2 separate regions of the Homo sapiens genome follow, and region 2 is linked to region 1. The links are contacts of gene promoters, found by promoter capture Hi-C in blood cells and fetal thymus (Javierre and others, 2016). All regions are on one chromosome and are shown on one strand. Each heading gives the region's core, a stretch centred on a gene start or on the middle of the fragment in contact. The rest is flanking DNA. Distances are from core to core; before and after follow the strand shown. Region 1 holds the start of TIMM10 (translocase of inner mitochondrial membrane 10). Region 2 holds the start of CYB561A3 (cytochrome b561 family member A3).

Evidence for each region. Contacts are between HindIII fragments. The CHiCAGO score rates a contact against its expected background, and 5 or more counts as called.
Region 2: a contact is called between the fragment with the promoter of CYB561A3 here and the fragment with the promoter of TIMM10 in region 1, in 1 of 17 cell types (erythroblasts). The highest score is 5.6, in erythroblasts.

What each region holds. Positions count from the first base shown.
Region 1 is chr11:57,529,456-57,532,816 of GRCh38, reverse strand. It overlaps TIMM10 (translocase of inner mitochondrial membrane 10), which reads left to right and starts at 2,063. Exons shown (of 3, transcript NM_012456.3): 1 at 2,063-2,159; 2 at 2,583-2,698. The coding sequence starts at 2,628. RefSeq lists an enhancer at 1,884-2,063. The HindIII fragment of the contact is 3,024 bases long and covers 1,890-3,361 here.
Region 2 is chr11:61,360,591-61,363,861 of GRCh38, reverse strand. CYB561A3 (cytochrome b561 family member A3) reads left to right here and starts at 1,980. Exons shown (of 7, transcript NM_153611.6): 1 at 1,980-2,129. TMEM138 (transmembrane protein 138) reads right to left here and starts at 1,488. Exons shown (of 5, transcript NM_016464.5): 1 at 1,442-1,488. RefSeq lists enhancers at 1,470-1,959, 1,370-2,091, 2,210-2,429. The HindIII fragment of the contact is 4,335 bases long and covers 256-3,271 here.

The sequences.
Region 1 (3,361 bases), core at 814-3,313:
TATAATTTTGTGATTTTGAGAATGTTACTTAAATGAAATCATACAGTATGCAACCTTTCATAAGGCCCAGTAGATATTGCAAGATTCCTCTTGTAAGAAACCATCTCCTTTTCCCACGCAGTTTCTTAACTTTCCATAATGTTTCTTTTTTGCGGGGAGTGGGGGGTCGGAGTTTCACTCTTGTTGCCCAGGCTGGAGTGCAATGGTGCGATCTTGGCTCACTGCAACCTCTGCCTCCCGGGTTCAAGTGTTTCTCCTGCCTTAGCCTCCTGCTTAGCCTCTTGAGTAGCTGGGATTACAAGCACCCGTCACCACACCGGGCTACTTTTTTGTATTTTTAGTAGAGATGGGGTTTCACCAAGTTGGCCAGGCTGGTCTCGAACTCCTGACCTCAGGTGATCCACCCACCTCAGCCTCCCAAAGTGCTGGGATTACAGGCGTGAGCCACTGCACCCGGCCAATGTTGACTATATTTTCAAAGGCAAAAACCAAGGCAAGATATGTCCATCTGTACAAGAGTATCATAGCAGCATTATTGCATAATAGGCAAAAACTGGAAACAATCCAAACATCCACCAACGGGAGAATGGATAGATGAATTGTGGCATACTCATACAATCAAACACTAGACAGCAATAAAACAGAAGGAATAACAGATGCACACAACAATATGGAGGAAATCTTACAGGTACATTGAGCTAAAGAAGTCAGGCACAAAATAGAAAATAATGTATAATTCCATTTACACGAAGTTCAAGAACAAGGAAAACTAATTGATGGTGATAGAGGTCAGAATAGTGGTTAACTTCGAGAGGGGGTATTGATGGGGAAGGAACACAAGATAACTTTTTGGGGTGCAGGAAGTATTTTATATCTTGATCTGGATGGCGGTTATACAAATGTACATATATAGATACATATATATTTAATTAAGCTTAACATTCGTGTATTTTATGCACTTTATGAATGTTATACCCCAATCTTTAAAAATCAGGGCACAAGTTTGGCAAAGATGAGTCTTCAAAGCAGTAGAAAGGTCAATTGTTTAAAATTAGGATGGTCTTGGACAATTAGGGAAGCTTATGATGACCACACAGAAAATGTCTAGCCCACCTTTTCCAATGGGCAATGTGCCCTTGCGTCATTAATTTACATCTTGTAAATTTATTTTACCAGGAAATTGTGTGACAAATCAAGGGACTGAGTATTGTTTCCTTGTTTCCTTCTTTTTAGTGGGGAATGAGTGAATGGTGCAGTTTGAAGAACACATTAAGTCTTGAAAGTTGGAAAGTTCACCAGTACCCTTCTTTCCCTCACCCAAGATTAGCCCTGGTGGCAGCCGAAATTGCTTTTATTATCTCTTTGTGGCTGAGGACCTCTAACTGTTGAAGAAAACATATTTTACACGTCTTGTCTTTCTGCGAACAGGAAGCCTATCTCGCTTATCTTTGCAACCCCAGACGGGGCTTAGTGTGACCTACACACAGCAGTAATCGCACAACGTCCCGTGGAGCACTGCTTCTCAAATTTGGCTGTACATACGAATCACCTGGGGAATTTTAAATTGTATTGCTGCCTGAGGAATTTTAAACTGTACTCCCAGAGATTCTGATTTAATTGAAATGAGGTGAGTCCTGGGCACTGGGATGTTTAAAAACGTTCCAGGTGATTTTAACGCGAAACAAAAACAGAACCGCTGTTTGGGGGCGTTCTTCCTTCTCCACGCCTGATTTGCGCACAGGAGTCGGCTGTCTGGAACGGGGGTGAGGTTCACAGGTGTCTGTCGCCACGCCTCTTCCTACAGAACCAATAAACTGAAGCCGCTCGGTGACATCCCAAAGGACTTGAATTCTGATCGGGCTGCAGACGCTCTGCACCCCGCCCAAGCTTCTATGGTACTTTGGTGTCCTCTCTAGCACTGGCAAGTCGCCTTCCTCTTCGCCCGGCGCCAGCCGCTCCCTCTCTATGATCGCCGAGTTCCCGGCGCCGTCTCGTTGGTATTTAATTCCGGAAGCGAGTTTGAATCAAAGAAGAGGCGGGACTTTCCTCCCGGAAGTAACCCACGTGCTTCCGCTGGAGCCTCTCGGGAGGCGGGTAACGTTATAGTATTTGTCAGAAGTTGGGGTCTCCGTGGGCATTGTGATCCGTCCCAGGCAGTGGTAAGTGACACATGACCTCTGAATTCAATGTGGCCCTGATGATGGCGTCGCCATTTCAGAGGTGTAGCCTTTGGGCTGGGTCCCGGTCGCCTCTGTTCAGCGTATGATCCCATTCCCAGGGCCCTGGAGGTTCAGGTTCGTGGGTTAGAGAGTTCTCCTCCGGTCCTCGATCTCCTGAATAGAGGTGACCTCCAGGAACTGGGGCATCAGAGATCCGGGGCTCGATTTCCAGGCTCGCCATAGACGTCCTGTGCGACCTTGGGCTAGGCCTCAGTTTCCACATCCGTGAAATGGGGTGGTTAAGCTCACTGAGGTTAGTGGCCCGTGGTGGTCTGGCGCCCTGTGAGTCCTCTGTATCCTCTAGCCCCAGGGGTAGGAGAGTGAACGGCGGCGGTGGGTGCTGATGGTGATGTCTGCTCCCAGGATTAGGAGGCCAGAAGGAGATCCCTTCCACGGTGCTAGGCTGAGATGGATCCTCTCAGGGCCCAACAGCTGGCTGCGGAGCTGGAGGTGGAGATGATGGCCGATATGTACAACAGGTAAAGAGAACTATGTGCTACCCTGTCTTGGAAAATAAGTCTTGGTCACCCTTATCGAAGGTGAATGACTTATGACAAATTCCTTCCTGAATGTAGGGGAGCCTGAGGCCCATGCTTACCCTCCCCACACCCACCTTCAAGGTTGATCCTAATGTAGATGCAGTAAAGGGTCACTAGAATGAGTTGGGCATTTAGATGGGGATGGAACTGGCAATGCAGGAGCCAAGCAGGAAGAGAAACTCCAATCCAGGCTCTGGTTAGGTTCCAAGAAAAGCTGAGTATTTGCCTCTTGACAAATAGCACATAGCCAGCCCATTTAGTAGTTAACATTTTAAAACCCTTTATTCTGTGTCAGGCACTTGTTAATCTTCAAAATAATCCAGTGGGTTAATTTTATTAGTCCCGTCTTAAAATGAGGAAATTGATGATTCTAGAGGTTAAGTAACTTCCTTAGGGTCGGCAGCTGGTCAGTAACAATGCCAGAACTAGCACCTCAGTCTGATTCTGCAACTAGTGCTCATAACCATTTGGCAAATTTGGGAACAAATCCTGGCTCCACCAATCACCAGCAGTATAATTGGACATGTTACTTGCACTGTTTGACAATTGGTTTCCTCATTATGAAGAAGACATAATGATACCTACCTCATAGGACATCATAAA
Region 2 (3,271 bases), core at 731-3,230, 3.8 Mb before region 1:
ATTTTACAGATGAGAAATTTGAGGCCAAGAGAGGTAAAATAATTTGTCCAAGGTCACGTCGTTAGTAAGTGGCAGAGCTAGTATTCAGATGCAGGCTGCACGGGTCCACAGTCTGTGCTCTTAACTACTGGACTAAGCTGTCTCTTACATAATTGATAGACTAGTATTTAACTAGGCAGGAAAAATGCCAGCAAAGAAGTGTGAAGTGCCCTAGGCAGAAAAAGCAGAGAGGAAACAGGGGTCTCCTGGAAAGCTTTATCTTTAGGGTTATGGTTGCAACACAGTGGCAGTTGTTTCTTTTCATCTATTCCAAGACCCACAAGTTGCTCTGGGGGTGTCCTATGACCCGCTGCTGTGCCAAATCTATAAAGAAATTTCAAAATGCTCTGGAGTGTTAGCGATTAAATTAGCATCGGTAAAATGTTTTGCAATTTATAAGCTCTTTTCATATTTCTAACCTTACGTAATCCTACAACCATCTTGAGAAGTAGCCATTACAATGTATATTATCCCCATTTTACACAGAGGCTCCGGAAGGTTAAGGCACCTCCTCCACCTCAGCTGGTGAAGTCCCACCTTATTGGACATATGTTCGCGGTTTCCTCATTCATTAAATTTTAGAGAGAGAGAGAGTGTCTCGCTCTGTCGCCAGGCTGGAGTGCAGTGGCATGATCTTGGCTCACTGCAACCTCCGCCTCTCGGGTTCAAGCGATTCTCCTGCCTCAGCCTCCCAAGTAGCTGGGACTACAGGTGCGTGCCACCACGCCTGGCTAATTTTTTGTATTTTTAGTAGAGACGGGGTTTCACCATGTTAGCCAGGATGGTCTCGATCTCCTGACCTCGTGATCCTCCCGCCTCGGCCTCCCAAAGTGCTGGGATTACAGGCGTGAGCCACTGCGCCCGGCCGCATTAAATAACACTGATAGCTACTACCTAGGTACTCACACCACGATAAACTTGTCAACCAAGATCGTTTCCTTTAATCCTCCCTACAAGTCTGCAAGGTGGGAATTATTCCTATTCTACAGGAAAGGACACAGAAGTCAGAGCTCAAGGCATTCCTCCAGGTCTCAAGTCAGCAGAACCCGGCTTCATAACTGTGACGCCAAACCCGTGCTCTTAACCACTACTCATAGGCCACCATCCAGGGCTGTTTTGAGGATCCGTTATGCAGAAACGCCCATGCCTGTCTCTACGTACGACGATCCCCTCCAGTTTAGGGCAGTGGAGACTCACAAGCTCATGAAGCTCTTTAATTCGTCCACCGCTACCTGCCGCCTTCCCTTTGTACCTAGGGCAGTATTCCTCACGCTTCCCAATCCACTTAAAAACGAGGCTTCCTTGGCAAACAACAACAAAGCATAAAACCCAAGCCCAAAACAACAGCACCAAAAATTCTGACTTCTGGTCACTTAACCCACTCCTCGTCAATCACTCTCACCTCCAAACTCCAACGTCGGTTGTCATGCGGACATCGTCCCGGCTTCCGGAAGCCGGCTTTAAATTCCGGAAGTAAATGGAGGAGGCGGGCCCCGTCTGCGCCGTGCGGCCTGCTAGTCCCCGGCTTTCTCTTCCCGCTCTATGGCCAGTCTGGCCGCCATGTTGGAGCTTTCGCTGTTCGGGGCCCGGCCTGCTCCGGGCCCTCCCAGCGTCGCCGCTAGCTGACTTAGGGCTCCCGCCCACACTGCGCACGGCCTTGCTGAGGGCCGGCTCGTAGTGGGAGGCTTCGCGTTCACCTGAACATTTCCGCCTCCTCTGGATGGGGGATGAGAGGCGGGGCTGATGCATCGCAGCAGTCCTGGACCCTGACTTCGGACTTGGAGAAGAAACGCCGAGGAGGAACGGGAGTTAGGGGGTTAGCAGCTTGGCGCGCTGGGAGCCGGCCACCCCTGGTCTCCGGACTTCACTTCCCAGGAGGCCTCGCGCGCGACTGGAAGTGCTGCGAGCCTATAAGAAGGCGAGGCGGCACCCGCCGCTCTGCTCTGGGGCGGCATTGCCAGCCGGCTGTAGGCATTCAGGGCAGTGTCTTCTGCATCTCCTAGGAACCTCGGGAGCGGCAGCTCCGGCGCCTGGTAGCGAGAGGCGGGTTCCGGAGATCCCGGCCTCACTTCGTCCCACTGTGGTTAGGGGTGAGAAGGATCCCGGGGCTGGGAGTTCAGGGACCTGGGTTCGAATGCTGGTTCCGCTGCTATCTCGCTTCGCACTGTCGCGATCCCCTTGCTCGGCCTCAATTTTCTCTTTTAGAAAGTGGGCACCTTTCTCCGCGCTCTTCCTTCCAACGCGGTGGTTATAAAGGCACGAAAGCTCTTCAGAGGACGCAGAAAGCACCTGGAGCTCCTCACCCCAATTTTCACCCATTGTTAGCTGGCACGAGCACCCAGCAGAGGAGTCAGGGATCACCCCTCGGGTGCCTGGAACGGTTCTTTGGACACCTGAGCCGGACCTAGGCACAGCCTGAAGTCGGGGTCTATAATTATTCCGGTGCTAAGGGGTAACTTGTTCACCTACCTCCTTGGCAGGAATATTGAGCCCTTCACTCCTCATGTTCCGACTTTAACAGAAGCTACCTTTGAGAATAAGGAATCCTCAGAGCTGAGAGGGAGTGGACCCGAATTCCTGTACCAGCTCGGCCACTTACCTTGGCTAAGTCATTTTCTTGTTTTGGGCCCCAGTGTCACAGTGTTTTTGATTTGTAAGATGAGGGTTTAGGGCTTGTATCCTAAATCTGGTCCTCAAGATTCTTGAAGTCCCCCAGTCCATCGGGGAGGGAGAGCAACAAACTGATTTTCTACCCCTTCATTTATTTGTAGTTCTAAATTATAAAAGTAACACTGCAAGAGTTTGGAGTAGAGCCTTTTTCTTTTTCTTTCTTTTTTTTTTTTCTGAGACAGAGTCTCACTCTGTCGCCCAGGCTGGAATGCAGTGGCACGATCTCGGCTCACTGCAACCTCCGCCTCCCGGGTTCAAGCGATTCCCCTGCCTCAGCCTCCCAAGTAGCTGGGATTACAGGCGCCCGCTACCGCGCCCGGCTAATTTTTGTATTTTTAGTAGAGACGGGGTTTCTCCATGTTGGTCAGGCTGGTCTCGAACTCCTGACCTCATGTGATCCGCCCGCCTCGGCTTCCCAAAGTGCTGGGATTACAGGCGTGAGCTACCGCGCCCAGCCTGCGTAGAGCCTTTTTCTAAGACTAAGGGCTGGATGGGAACTAGCATTTCTTACCCCTGGATGTGACCTGTTTTAGCTCAGCCGGGAGAATCCTTTTTCGCAAGA